2 separate regions of the Homo sapiens genome follow, and region 1 is linked to region 2. Evidence: promoter capture Hi-C in human tissues and cell types (Jung and others, 2019). All regions are on one chromosome and are shown on one strand. Each heading gives the region's core, a stretch centred on a gene start or on the middle of the fragment in contact. The rest is flanking DNA. Distances are from core to core; before and after follow the strand shown.

The links. The method cuts DNA at HindIII sites, captures the fragments that hold promoters and counts their contacts. A contact is called where the count stands out against the background at its distance.
Region 1: a fragment that was not itself captured here is called in contact with the fragment with the promoter of LMAN1L in region 2 in 2 of the 25 tissues and cell types used here (dorsolateral prefrontal cortex and spleen).

The regions. Positions count from the first base shown.
Region 1 is chr15:74,544,685-74,551,752 of GRCh38, reverse strand. The region is part of intron 2 of ARID3B (AT-rich interaction domain 3B); the gene reads right to left. Among named protein-coding and RNA genes, the nearest start is that of ARID3B, 7.0 kb to the right of the region's middle. RefSeq lists enhancers at 5,179-5,488, 5,311-5,605 and a silencer at 5,189-5,731. The HindIII fragment of the contact is 3,774 bases long and covers 1,044-4,817 here.
Region 2 is chr15:74,811,000-74,818,559 of GRCh38, reverse strand. It overlaps LMAN1L (lectin, mannose binding 1 like), which reads right to left and starts at 5,725. Exons shown (of 14, transcript NM_021819.3): 1 at 5,531-5,725; 2 at 2,249-2,403; 3 at 2,026-2,133; 4 at 1,870-1,928. The coding sequence starts at 5,705. The HindIII fragment of the contact is 6,905 bases long and covers 930-7,560 here.

The DNA.
Region 1 (7,068 bases), core at 1,681-4,180, 260 kb after region 2:
CTGGCAATAATGTGCAATCAAGAGGAAATTTTTTAAAAGTGGTCTCTCATTTCCTTGTTAACAACTGACTCAGGTAAAATTTAAGATTAAAGGTTTTTGTTGTTGTTTGCTTGTTTTTAAGTCTGACAGAGAGAAGATGCGTAAACGTGGAAAAGGCCTGGAAGAGAATGAGCCCAAAGAGTCAGGAAATGGAGGGTTCACTGATGGAGCAAGTCCCTGGAAACCTGGAAGGGGATGGGATCTGGGACACATGTAGAGAAATTAGCCTCTGGTGAGAGGGTAAGGACCCAAGTCAAGTCAGTGATTGTGTATTTATAAGGACTTAGTATCTATAAAGCTTACTTCTACCTAAAGAACAATACACACATATCCCTATGCTAATACGGAAAGATACAGCTTCAGAAGCGCCATGGTTTAAGCTCACATAATCCTGAAAGGTTTCAGAGAACTTCAGAACACCAGAGTGTGGTCAGGGCTCTAGAAAACCTGAAAAGGAGTTGTTTTAGAGTAGTGGGTAGGATTTATGGAGCATCTTATCTACAAAGGTCATAAAGACTGAAAAATTATGATTGACCCTTCAACGTGGATTTGAACTGCCTGGGTCCACTTATATGTAAACTATTTTCAACCCAACTTGGATCAAAGACAAAATTTACGAGATGTGAAACCCATGTATATGGAAGACTGACTTTTAATATATGTGGGTTCCACAGAGCTGACTGCAGGACTTGAGTATGCTCAAATTTTGGTATATGTGGGGGTCTTGGAACCAATCCCCTGCATGTGAGGGACGACGGTAGCTTCAAAAAGGACTTAGGTGTTGATGACAATTCGCCCTAACCCTGCAAAGCTCTTTCACACTCATATTTTTCTTCTACCTTTGTAATATCCTTAAAATCACTTCCTGAGGATAGCGGGAGAGGATTATCATCCTCTGGAATAGATTGATGCATGGGTTCAGAGAGGCAGATTAGAACGCTTGTCCAAAGTACTAGAGCAAGCAAGCAGTGGAAGCAGGGTCTTTTTTCTTTTCCTTTTTTTTTTTTGAGATGGACACTCACTCTGTCACCCAGGCTGGAGTGCAGTGGTGTGATCTCAGCTTACTGCAAGTTCTGCCTCCCGGGTTCATGCCACTCTCCTGCCTCAGCCTCCGGAGTAGCTTGGGACCGCAGGCGCCTGCCACCACGCCCAGCTAACTTTTTTTTTTTTTGTATTTTTAGTAGAGACGGAGATGATGTTTCACTGTGTTAGTCAAGATGGTCTTGATCTCCTGACCTCGTGATCCGCCTGCCTCCGCCTCCCAAAGTGCTGGGATTACAGGTGTGAGCCACTGCGCCTGGCGGGAAGTAGGGTCTTAATCCACATCCTCTGGCTCCAAAACCAATGCTGATTTAATAATTAAATCTGTTACTAGGTAACAAGTCTGCCAAGTATTTACACTTTAACCTTTTGGGGTTAATGTCTACAAGGGCAACCAAGCTCTCTCATATATCACCAAAGATATCAAAGATATCATGGAGTGCTGGGCTGAAAGAATCACTGATAGAGTCAAGTAAGAGATCTCAAGTTCTAGGCCCCAAACCTTTCCCAAGTGACAGTCTGTTCACCTAGATGACTAGAGGAAAGACATGAGCTCGGTACAGATATTGAAAGCAGAAGTCAAGAAAATTCAAGGCTGCCAAACTCCTCAGTTACTGAGACTGAAACACAAAGGAAAAGAGTCTCTGGTGCTGTCTGATGATAGCGAAGCTTATGTTCTTTCTGGTTGCACAATCTAGAGCACGGTTTCTCAACCTTGGCACTACTGTTATTTTGGACCAGATAACTCTTTGCTGTTGGGGGGCTGTCCAGTGCGTTATAGGATGTTTAGCAGCATCCCTGGTCTACCCACTAGACGCCCATAGCACACTGCCCCCTACTCCAGTCATGGCAATCAAAAATGTCTCCTGACACTGCCAAATGTCCCCTGGGAAGGGGCAGGGGTCACCTCTAATTGAGAACCACTCAACTAGATGGATTCCATTGTGACTGCAGAAGGCAAGGGCATGCAAGGTAGCTCTATAAAGAACATGAGGAAAGCCTACGAACATTTTCTTTTTTGGGCAATACTTTGCACAGTTTTTTAAAAAAGCCTCAAATGTTCCATAGTCATGCTGTATCTTTTCTTTTTCCCTTTTTTTTTTTTTTTACACCATCTCACTCTGTCATCCAAACTGGAGTGCAAGTGGCATGATATCGACTCACTGCAACCTTCGCCTCCCAGGTTCAAGTGATTTTCCTGCCTCAGCCTGCCGAAGTAGTTGGGACTACAGGCGTGTGCCACCACACCCAGCTAATGATAGTCATGCAGTATCTACCAAGAAAAGTAGGCCTATCCCGGCCGGGCGCAGTGGCTCACGCCTGTAATCCCAGCACTTTGGGAGGCCGAGGCGGACGGATCACGAGGTCAGGAGATCGAGACCATCCTGGCTAACACGGTGAAACCCCGTCTCTACTAAAAATACAAAAAAATTAGCCGGGCGTGGTGGCGGGCACCTGTAGTCCCAGCTACTCAGGAGGCTGAGGCAGGAGAATGGCGTGAACCCCGGGGGGTGGAGCCTGCAGTGAGCCGAGATCATGCCACTGCACTCTAGCCTGAGTGACAGCGAGACACCGTCTAAAAAAAAAGAAAAAAAAAGAAAGAAAAGTAGGCCTATCCCAAGGGACTACACCTTAATTAGAGGGATGGCTTCTGGACACCAGTCAGTCAGTCATGGCATTAGAAGAAATGGACAGTAGTCTCCACTAATTGCCCAGCAGGAAGTCGACTCTCACGGTAAGATGAGATTGATTTTGCTCATGGTTAAGAATAGGCAAAAAAAACCCCAAAAAAACAAAAACAAACACGAAACTCCCTCTTCTCAAATCACATTCCCTTTGTCTCTCCCAGTGCCCATCTAACATGGCAATTCTTCCCATTTGTCATGGAGCTTCCTTTGCTTCTGTACTGCAGAAGTGCTTCTCCAACAAATTCAGAGAGAACCCACGCTGTCATGAGCTGAGGGTGCCCCAAGCGGCTTGGAGGTGTTTGAAATTGGTAATACCCTGTCCTTGTTAACACATGTGATTAGCAAGCTTTAGGACGTTAGGAATTCTTTAATTGCAAATATTCTGAAATTAAACCCTTCCATCCTAGAAGGCAGTCACAAAACAAAATCTTGTAAAACATGCTAGAAGGGGAAGGGTAGAGGAGGGGGCCAACATTTATTGTGCAATGGCTCCCAGTGCTTTCAACTGAATTGGCTGTGAAAGTATGTTAAGCCCGTGGTTGGATCACAGCCACATGCAGTAACCAAAGCGACTGCCAAAGTATGCAGAAAATCGGACACATGCACCCTGGCCCCACATGCCTGCCAAGCCATCTTTCTTCTTTCTATTCTATCGAAGGGGGTCTACACCCTTCTAGTAACCTAGCTCTACCAATGGGCTCAAGACAGACCCAGCCTGTACTGCTTGAACCACCTTCTACCAGAGGGGGAGAACACCACCCCCAAAAGGCCAGCAACATCCCCTAGTTGGCTGTATGATCTCCTTTGAGAAAAGGAACACTCAGTTCTTTGTCTGTTTTCTTGTTTTACAATTATTTACTCTGCCCATAGGAATCTGATGGGTTTTAGAACACTTGGCTCAATGGCGTTATCCATCTTCCCATCACTGTGGTGTCAGAGAATAATACCACACCTTAACAATCCAGGCCTTGAGAAGCAAATATTTTCTAAGAGTTTCTTCAAAGAGAATCCACGAAATAATTTTGACTTTACATGTTCTAAGTAAGGGATTTCAGATGCAAAGAATAATCTCTGGAACCCTTAAGCTTTCCCAGTTTCACTTTTCAGTTAGCAGATGCCTGTCCTCCCTTACCCCAAAATCTTGCAAAATACTTCTGAGTATTCCTGTTGGTTTGCCAAGCTATGCTATGCTGTAGACAAAATTAACTTTTTAAACTTTGGCATGTGAATGTTTGAAACAAAACTCTGTTTTAAAATATCTCTGCCATAGCAGACTGGGTGGCTGGGCTCCAGTAGACTCAGGACAGAATCAAATTATTGTAACCCAAGTTCGAATCCCCCTTGAGGTTCCCACACTGCCACCGCTAGACCTGAACTCCCTGAGAGAGAAACATGCCTTGTTTCATACAGCACAGGTCTGGCACAAAGAAGCCTCTGTAAAAGTTTGTTGTTCAAAAGAACAAGATGGACACTGTATCACATTAACAATAAGATCTGTGTCAGGGTAGGCGCGGTGGCTCACGCCTGTAATCCCAGCACTTTGGGAGGCCAGGACGGGCGGATCACTTGAGGTCAGGAGTTTGAGACCAGCCTGGCCAACATGACGAAACCCTGTCTCTACTAAAAATACAAAAAAATAAATAAAAATAAAAAAATAAATTAGCCAGGCATGGTAGCATATGCCTGTAATCTCAGCTGCTAGGGAGGGTGAGGCACGAAAATCACTTGAACTCAGGAGGCGGAGGTTGCAGGAAGCCGAGATCGCGCCACTGCACTCCAGCCTGGGCAACAGAGTGCGCTCTGTGTCGGCGGGGGAGGGGGAAGGCGGGGGGGAAAGATCTGTGTCAATTGTAAAGGTCTTTGTAATTGTTGCTGGAGCAAGGGATATTCTATTTTTGCACTCCATTAAGTTTCATAAAGTAAAGATTTTGAACAACAAAACAAGCTAGTCTAATGATCTGTAATGGTTTCTATAGGCTCTCCCCAAGAATATTATTATTTTTGGCCCTTCTAAAATATACTAAAAAAAAAGTTTTAAAATCCCCAAGCATATGATTTACTCCTTTAAAATCAGGATTTATAGAAAAGGAGAGCACAGATCAAATCAATGTTAAAAATTAAAGGGGAAAAGGACGTGCACATCTGACGGTTTAAGTCATTGCTACCCAAAGCCCCCCAGTTCAGTTCTTGATCTCCAAATCCTGGGGGAAGGTAAATTTTGGGTGAGGGATTATACCTCAGCTACTGTGGTATTTATAAAACATTTTGGCAGGTGCTCTGCCAAGCAGTCTATAATTAGTGAATATGCCTCAGAAACATAAAGTGAACGCAAAGAGTTTCAAATGCCAACAGCCAGCCCCCTGAATACTGAGCTACGTAGTCATAGGGCTGCCACCATCTAGATAACATGATGCTGGGTGCCCTGCCACGGTGCACACGTGTGCACATGCACACGCCAGTTCTGAAGAGTCTTTTTTTAAACCTCTAATGGCTTGACCTCAACACCTGCTACACTTCCTGAAGACAGACAGGCTCTGGAGCTCCACTTGTTCCTCGCATGCGGCTGCACTTTCTAGGAACGACCGCACACACGCAGACGCTGGCCAGCTGCCAAGGCGGGGGCAGCCCAGCCGCCTCGGGCCTGAACTTTCCCAGCGCTGTCAGGGCAGGATCCTGCTATGAGCTGACTCAGCGGCCGGTATGGAACTCTGCCAACCACACAGCAGTGCGGGGGCAGCCGGCAACTCACAGATGTTTTGCTAAACCAAAGCAATCAGTGGGAGGCGGGTCTGGGCTGGCGGCCAGGGTGCTGCTGTCGTGGAAGTTGGGATTCTCTGATTCTAGTCCTAGCTCTGCCACTATCTCCCTGGGTGATGAGTGAAAACCTCTGTGTATCTCAGTACATCTCCCACTTCAGAGGCATGTCTATGTGATGCAGGAGAGGATGGCACTGTTTACATAAAAGAGCTCCCCCGGGCACTATTACCTACCATGTGCCTGGCACTGGACAAGCTTTCACATGTGCTAGCTCGGTTAATCCTTACAACATCCATGGGAGGCAGTGGCACTCTTTTTATTTCACAGATGAGAAGACACAGGCTCAGAGCAAATCAGAGCCCTACTAAAAGATCACAAGGGCAATATTTGGAAGTGATGGGATTTGAATCCCACTGCTGGCTGCAAACACTATTGTTGTAAAACTCAGATCTACTGTACAGACCTCCTGATCCAAGATGTTTGATTTTTTGGGTTCCAAAGGACCTTTCTTATATGACTTCTCAGTTGCCCTGTGAAAACCCACAGCTTTTCACAAATGATTTCTAAACAGTACCACTGGATCACAAGAAGTGTGTGTGCTTCTGCAGGGTACCCATGAACTCCCTTACTAAGCACCAACAAGTCACTTAAGCTGGAACAACTTATCATCACTCCCATCCTTTGGGCGAGGAAAAACTATATTATGGGTCACAAAGAGAAGAGGCTTGGTTGAAAACAAAGATTCCCTAGGCTCCACCCTCCAAGATAATTCATTAGGACTCAGCAATCTGTATTTTTTAAAAAGCTCCCTAACTGACTCTGATACTCAGCCATTTGGAAGTCACTTCAGCTTTCCTTGACTAAAAAGGAAATTTTGAGGTCTACCCTTCCCTGTTGTCAAGGGGATGATGTAAGAGTGAAATGAAATCATGTCTACAAGGCTCTTTGTTGGAAAATATATACAATGCAAGTGCTTCTTGTCAGCTGTGTTTAGCTCCAAAACAACCAACTGTCCTTAAAGAGGGTTAGCCTGGAGCTAAGAAACTGTCTTAGGCAAGAACTTTCTTTTACATTACTGTTAGAAACATTATTATTAGAAAAGCTGTAATTAGTCACACATCTCATTTTAGATATTCCTCACAACACTGTTGCAACTTCATCCTTCCTTTAAAAAAGAAGATTGTATTGACATTCTTTCACATCAAACTTGGCAAAACCTATATTAAGAGTAACATACAGGCCAGGGGCGGTGGCTCATGCCTGTAATCCCAACATTTTGGGAGGCCGAGGCAGGCAGATCACGGGGTCAGGAGATCGAGACCATCTTGGCTAACACGGTGAAACCCCGTCTCTGCTAAAAATGCAAAAAATAAGCCAGGCATAGTGGCACGCGCCTATAGTCCCAGCTACTCAGGAGACTGAGGCAGGAGAATCGCTTGAACCTGGGAGATGGAGGTTGCAGTGAGCCGAGATCATGCCACTGCACTCCAGCTTGGGTGACAGAGTGAGACTCCATGTCAAAAAAAAAAAAAAAAAAAGAGTA
Region 2 (7,560 bases), core at 4,476-6,975:
ACCATGCCCGGCTAATTTTTGTATTTTTAGCAGAGATGGGGTTTCACATTGTTGGTCAGGCTGGTCTCAAACTCCTGACCTCAAGTGATCCACCTGTCTTGGCTGCCAAAGTGCTGGGATTACAGGTGTGAGCCACCATGCCTGACTCTTGTGGGCAGTTGGAATCCAGCCAGGATATACAGGACTCAAGGCCTGGACAGTGAGGGCAGTCCCAGAAGCCACTCTGCCCAGATTTGCTGTGCCACCTCCCTTTCCGCTGGGCGAGCTGGCATGGGACATGTACCTTGTCTAGCTTGAGTCTCCCTTGTTGTACCCTGCTCCCTTGGCAGAAGAGAGAGGAGCAGGGGAAGCAAGCCCTGCCTGACGGAGTGTTGGGACTTGGATTTACAGAAGGGGCCAGGGGCCTCCCTGTGGCCCTTCCTTAAGGGGACAAAGGCCTGGACCAACAATACAGTTTCTGCCCTCCATTCCCCCGACCCACCTATCACCCTCGTCCTATCACCCTTACGTCCCTCCTTCTTCTCTCTCTCTTTTTTTTTTTTTTTCTGAGACGGAGTCTTGCTCTGTTGCCCTGGCTGGAGTGCAGTGGCGCGATCTCGGCTCACTGCAACCTTTGCCTCCTGGGTTCAAGCGGTTCTCCTGCCTCAGCCTCCCGAGTAGCTGGGATTACAGGTGCTCGCCACCACACCCGGCTAATTTTTTTAATTTTTAGTAGAGACAGGGTTTCACCATGTTGGCCAGGCTGGTCTCAAACTCCTGACCTCAGGTGATTAGCCCGCCTCAGCCTCCCAAAATGCTGGGATTACAGGCGTGAGCCACTGTGCCTGGCCTCTCCCTCCTCCTTCTTTTAAACTCCAAGTCCTCTGTGCCTCTGGCTTCCTTTTCCTCTCCCAGCTGCCAGGGCTCAGAATGCAGCTGACTCAGGACGGATGACCTGGACATGTCCCGGCAGCCAAGGACAATGTGACCAGGCTGCCTCCCTGACAGGTCGGCTCGGCAGGCTCTGGGGAGTCAGGAGAAGAGTGTTAAACGCTGAGTGTCTCTGGACACCTCAGGCTACTCACAGCAGAGCGTCTGACAGTGCCGCCTTCCGCCAAGAGGGAGGCAGCACAGGGCAGGGGAGAAGCCAGCACCACAGCAGCCACCTGGGTTTGTGCCCCGAGCTATGTGACCTTGGGCAAGCCATCTCATCTCTCCAAACCCCAGTGTTCCCATCTCTAAAACGAGGATGGTAATTGGAACGACCTCATAACAATGTTATGAGGGTTAACTAAGACAGTAAATGAGAAGGGCTTGGTGCTGTGCCTGGCATACAATCAGCTCACTCCATAAATGCAGGCAATTACTCTAATTGTTATGAGCCGAGAGAAGGTTGCTGAGAGACACTGACAAACCGGCCCAGCTACTGAGGAGGCAGTAGGGCCGGGGAGGGACAGAAGCCAAATCATCAGGGGAAAGGGAAGGGACAGCTATGCAGGGAAGGGCGAGGACCCTCCAGGGGTAAGTCTGGGCTCAAAGTTCAGCACTGCGCACGGCACATCCCTTCCCCTCTCTGGGCTCAATGTCCTGACCTGTAAATGGGACGAATAACCCCCCACTTATGGAGGGTGTTGGAGATGGGATGAGATCATGGGAGCAAAGATACTCATCACAGGCCCCAGCCTGTGTCATTTCACCTGGGGCTGCTGGGTCGAAGGAATCAAGCCCCAGGGGGGCGGACGTCGGCTAAGTGAGAGAGTCCAGCAAGTATGGCGGCCCGGCAGGGTGGGCCCCCTGCTGGAGGAGGCTGGGGCAGGGGCTCGGATGGGGGGGATGGGCCCCTCCCAGTGCAAAAATGGAGGTGAGTGGTCAGTCCAGACAGGCCCTTACCCAGGCTGCTCAGAGGGGATGTGCCCGTCGCTGGCCAGCACACGGATGGCAGGACTGTCCTGCAGGGAGGTGAGAAGCAGCCTGAGCCGCGGACATGGCGGGAGGGGGAGGGTGTGAGCGGGCAGGCGGGCTGGCAGGCAGGAGACCACTACGCACCTGAGTATCCTCTGCCGGAGAGTCAAAGAAGATCCCGATGCCGTCCCACGAAGCCAGCCCCCCAAGGACAGAGCCTACATGGCCCCTGCCCCGGGTGTACCACACGGCCTGCAGGTCCCCAGCCCCTCAGCTCAGGGAACCGTGTGGGATACTGGGACCCCGGGGCTCATCACCCGCCTCCCTGACCCACCCCGCTCTGTCAGCTCTGGGAGAGGACACTCACCATGCCCTGGGCTCCCCGGCGCCCCAGTCCCGTCACCCTCATCTGCACCTCTACTTCCCAGGCAGAGAAGGGGACAGAGGCCCTGCTCCACACGGCGCCACTCCGGTTCCTCATGGATGGCGTCAGCCGCACTTCCTCCAGGCCCAGGATGGCGTCTGTGGACAAGGGCAGCTCAAGCCCCAGGCTCCACTACACCCCATCTCCCCCTTCACTCTCTCACTTGGCCCGGGCTGGGCTCCCGGAAGAGAAGGCGACAATGCCAAGGCCTACCATTAAATAAGCGGCCAGCCAGGGAAGCAGGAGTCAGAGCCCAGCACAGCTGGAGGGGCCTTTGCTGGGGAGGGCAATGAATGCCAGCACCATCCACGTCGTCAGTGAAGCCTCACCGCAGTGTGTGCTGTCTGTTTTTATAAGACCCCATCTAACAGATGAGGAAGGTGAGGCTCATAAAAGTTAAGGAACTAAGTGGATTGGATGGAATTCAGCTCCATATGACTCCAAAGCACAAGCTTTTTCCACCACGAGAGAGATTTGTGTCTAACCCTTCCCATTTCTCAGATGACGAAACTGAGGCCTTGTGACAAAAAAGGAAGTGCCTGAGACCACAGAACACAGGAGAGCACTTTAGGAGGGAGTAACTGCAAGAAGGCCCAAGACTCTAGGCTGTGGCCAAATGAGGCCAGAGCTTCCTGGTGGACAGGACCTAGGGGGCATTCCAAGGTGAGGAAAGCAGGAAAGCAAAGATGTGAAGGTGAGAACCGGCCCACAGGACTGCGATGAAAGAATGCAGGATGGAGTATGTGTGTGAGAATTGCCACTGGCGGTGGTGGGGCGGGGAGGAAGGAGCCCTGCATGGTAGGAAAAAGGAATGGGAGAGAAACTGAGGCAGTCTTGGCAGGAACTGGGGGCAGGGAACTCAGAGGCCCTACTCGAGCTCGCTCCCCACCCTCCAACCTGCCAGCCTGGAACCTGGCCCAGGGCCCAGACTCTGCCAGGACGTTCTGGAGGCAGCTAATCCAGCCTGTTTGCTCTATAAAGGCCAGGGATGGGGGTAGGGAGGCTCAGAGCTGCAAGGCCACAAGTCCCAGGGCCTCTGGAAGCTGTCACTGCCTCTGAAATCCTTGCAGAAGGCTTTCAGCCTTACAAGGCCTGTGGGTGAGACCTTGCCCCAGACCATGGGCTCCTTCAGCCTCACTCTGCCTGGTATCTCTGGGCTGGGCACAGAGGAACATCAGGGTGAACGAATGAATGAACAGACAATGCACACATCACTGGGTGATCTTGGAGAAGGTGCCTCTGCTCCCTCACATGATCTGTGACACCCAGATTTGGCAAGGCCCATAGCAGTGAGTGTTGTATAAGTTTTGCCATCCTGGTCCTGAAGCAGGGCCCAGCTTGGTGCTGTGAGAAACAGCCCACCTTTTTGTTACCTCCTGTGTCTCTATGAAGGAGGACTGGAAGAAACCCTACTGACAGGGCCTATCATCTTAAAGGAATATTTTGGGCTGGGCGCGGTGGCTCATGCCTATAATCCCAGCACTTTGGGAAGCCGAGGCAGGCGGATCATCTGAGGTCAGTAGTTCAAGACCAGCCTGGCCAACATGGTGACAACCCGTCTCTACTTAAAAAATACAAAAATTAGGCTGGGCGCGGTGGCTCGCCTGTAATCCCAGCACTTTGGGAGGCCAAGGCGGGCGGATCACGAGGTCAGGAGATCGAAACCATCCTGGCTAACAAGGTGAAACCCCATCTCTACTAAAAGTACAAAAAATTAGCTGGGGGTGGTGGCAGGCACCTGTAGTCCCAGCTACTCGGGAGACTGAGGCAGGAGAATGGCATGAACCCAGGAGGTGGAGCTTGCAGTGAGCCGAGATCACGCCACTGCACTCCAGCCTGGGCAACAGAACGAGACTCCGTCTCAAAAAAAAAAAAACAAAAACAAAAACAAAAATTAGCTGCGTGTGGTGGCACACACCTGTAATCCCAGCTACTCAGGAGGCTGAGGCAGGAGAATCACTTGAATCTGGGAGGTGAAGGTTGCAGTGAGCCAAGATCACACCACTGCACTCCAGCCTGGGCAACAAGAGTGAAACTCCATCTCACAAAAAAAAAAGGGATATTTTGTCCTGGCTTTAGTTAGGAATCGTGCCATTTCTCAGAACTCACATCTTTTTTTTTTTTTTTTTTGAGCCAGAGTCTGGCTCTGTGCCCAGGCTGAAGTGCAATGGCAGGATCTCAGCTCACTGCAACCTTGGCCTCCCAGGTTCAAGCAATTCTCCTGCCTCAGCCTCCTGAGGAGCTGGGACTACAGGCGCACGCCACCACACCCAGCTAATTTTTGTATTTTTAGTAGAGTCAGGGTTTCACCATTTTGGCCAGGATGGTTTTCAACCTCTTGACCTCGTGATTCATCCGCCTTGGCCTCCCAAAGTGCTGGGATTACAGGCGTGAGCCACTGCACCTGGCCAAGAACTCACATTTTATAGACAGAAATCCACAGCCGATCTGCTTTCTGTCTTTGCTTTGCCTGCTAAGAGGCTCAGAATTAAATCCATGGCCCAACTCTCAGGTGGACAGACCTCACAGCATATGTTTTGGAAGCCATGCTCCTAGACTATTTCACGCTCCACTCTAATCCTCATTGTTCTTGCTCACTCCCTCTATCGTGTAGTTCCATCATCACAAACCCTTTTTTGAACAAGATCTGGTAGAAGACACACTCTTTGTAGGTCTGGGTTTGGAAGTCCCTGAATACAAACCTATGGGCTAAGATGCTCTCATGCCTGCTTCCACCCACAACACACATACAGGGAAGGGCTGGTGCCCACTCACCTGGGATGAGGATGCTTCCCTCCAGGTAGCCCCCAGTTCTCATGGCCAGCCACAGGCCCGCTGGGATGGAGCCGGGAGAGTGGAGGTTTGTGCTGGTCCACATTGCCTTCTGTGTGCCTGGGACTTAGTGTGTGAGCATGTGTCTGTGTGTTCACAGGTCAGAGGTAGAGGAAGGGCAGGGGTCCAAGGAGAGGCAGAGGAGAAGAGAGAAGTCCTGGGGCAGGGAAGCAGAGAGGCAGAGGAGAAACAGCTTGGGCAGGGGTGGGGGGTGTTGAGGCGGTGGAGCAGGAGACAAGCCTGGAAGGGGTCCTGGGGTGCCTGGCACTGTCCCAGGCCTTGCCCCACCCTGGACAGAGGATGGCTGTGACAGACCCACTCCCCACCAAGTCACAGCCCCTCCAGCACTTTGAGGGACCCTGGGCATAGCTGGTCCCCACCCCTGCCCCTCACCTCCATGATGGCTCCAGAAGGGTATTCCAGCCCCAGGCAATGCCAGCCTTGGGCCTTTGAAGCTGAGCTTGTACTCAAACCTGCGTAGAGGAGGACACCCCGTCTCAGGGCTGTGGGGGTCCAGGAGCAGGAGGAGAAGGCAGAATAAGGGACCTGGACCACTGACCGCCGGCATCGTGAAGGCGCCTGAAGTCTGGGCCCCGGGGTAGATCATAGCTGGGAGGCCGGGGAGGGGATCCTGGGATAGGGCCAGGCAGGGAGGAGCTGGGGACTGGCCAGGAGCTGGGTTTTGGCACTGTCCTCTCCCTCTATCTCCAGCATAGACATCCTGTTCCTTCCAGGCCTGCTGTCAGGCCCCGCCCATCCCTCACCTCCAGTCTGACGTGGGCAGCGGGACCCCACGACAACCTGAGCTCTGCCCCTGCTCCTGACTCAGGCCATCTTTCTGTCTCCCATCACTTCCAGCAGTTGGATGCGGCAGAGGGGAAGGGGGGGTGCCCAGGGTTGGCCCCCACCCTTCAGCAGCCCTGGCCTCCCCTCCCAGTTAGGGAGACAGGCCTCCACATTCTGCCTGTGTCCCCCAGCATGGATGGCACATCTATCTGGACACCCATCCTTCTCTCCTCCCTGCCCCCTCTCTCCCTCTCCCGAATTCCCCCAGGCTCATCCTTCCAAGCAGCCTGGTTTCCTCAACAAAAGCATTACATGGAAAAAAGAAGGGAGTCTTTAGAGACAGCACAAAAACGCAACGTGCAGACCTTGTTTGGAGCCAAATTTTAACCCAACTGCAAAAAAAAAAAAAGATATTGGGGAAATTTGAACAATGGATATTTTTGAACAATGGATATTTGACTATATTGAGGAATTGTTAAAAATTTTAGGGCACTGTGGCTCATGTCTGTAATCTTAGCACTTTGGGAGCCCAAGGCAGGTGGATCACCTGAGGTCAGGAGTTCGAGACCAGCCTGGCCAACATTGTGAAACTCTGTCTCTACTAAAAAAAAATACAAAAAATTAGCCAGGCCTGGTGGTGCATGCCTGTAATCCCAGCTACTTGGGAGGCTGAGGCAGGAGAATCACTTGAACCTGGGAGGCAGAGATTGTAGTGAGCGGAGATTGCACCATTGCACTCCAGCCTGGGTGATAAGAGCAAAAATCCATTTCGAAAAAAAAAATTGAGAACTAATATGGTATTGTGGTTATGTTTTTTATTTTTTATTTTATTTTATTTATTTATTTTTTGAGACGGAGTCTCGCTCTATCGCCCGGGCTGGAGTGCAGTGGCGCGATCTTGGCTCACTGCAAGCTCTGCCTCCCGGGTTCACACCATTCTTCTGCCTCAGCCTCCCAAGTAGCTGGGACTACAGGTGCCCGCCACCATGCCTGGCTAATTTTTTGTATTTTTTAGTAGAGATGGGATTTCACCGTGTTAACCAGGGTGGTCTCGATCTTCTGACCTCGTGATCCGCCTGACTTGGCCTCCCAAAGTGTTGGGATTACAGGCGTGAGCCACTGCGCCTGGCCTTTTTTTTTTTTTTTGAGAGGTGGTGTCTTCCTATGTTACCAAGGATGGACTCAAACTTCTGGGCTCAAAGGATCCTCCTGCCTCCTGAATAGCTGGAAATAAAGGCATGAGCCACCACGCCTGGCTTGTGGTTATGTTTTTAAAGTGTCTTTTGGAGAAACATACAAAAGCTTTACAGATGAATTGCTGTAACATCGGGGATTTGCTTCAAAATATTCCAGGGCTTGTTGGTGAGCAGGTGGGGTAGAGATGAGACAGAATTGACCTTGAGTTGGTAAGTGCTGAAGCTGGATGGCGGGATGCAGGGGTTCCTTATATCTTCTACTTTTATTATTTTTTGAAACAGGGTCTCACTGTCACCCAGACTGAAGTGCAATGGCAGGATTGTAGAGGAGCTGGGACTACAGGCACACACTACCGTGCCTTGCTAGCTAATTTTTTTTTTTTTTTTTTTTTGAGACGAAGTCTCACTCTGTCACCCAGGCTGGAGTGCAGTGGCGGGATC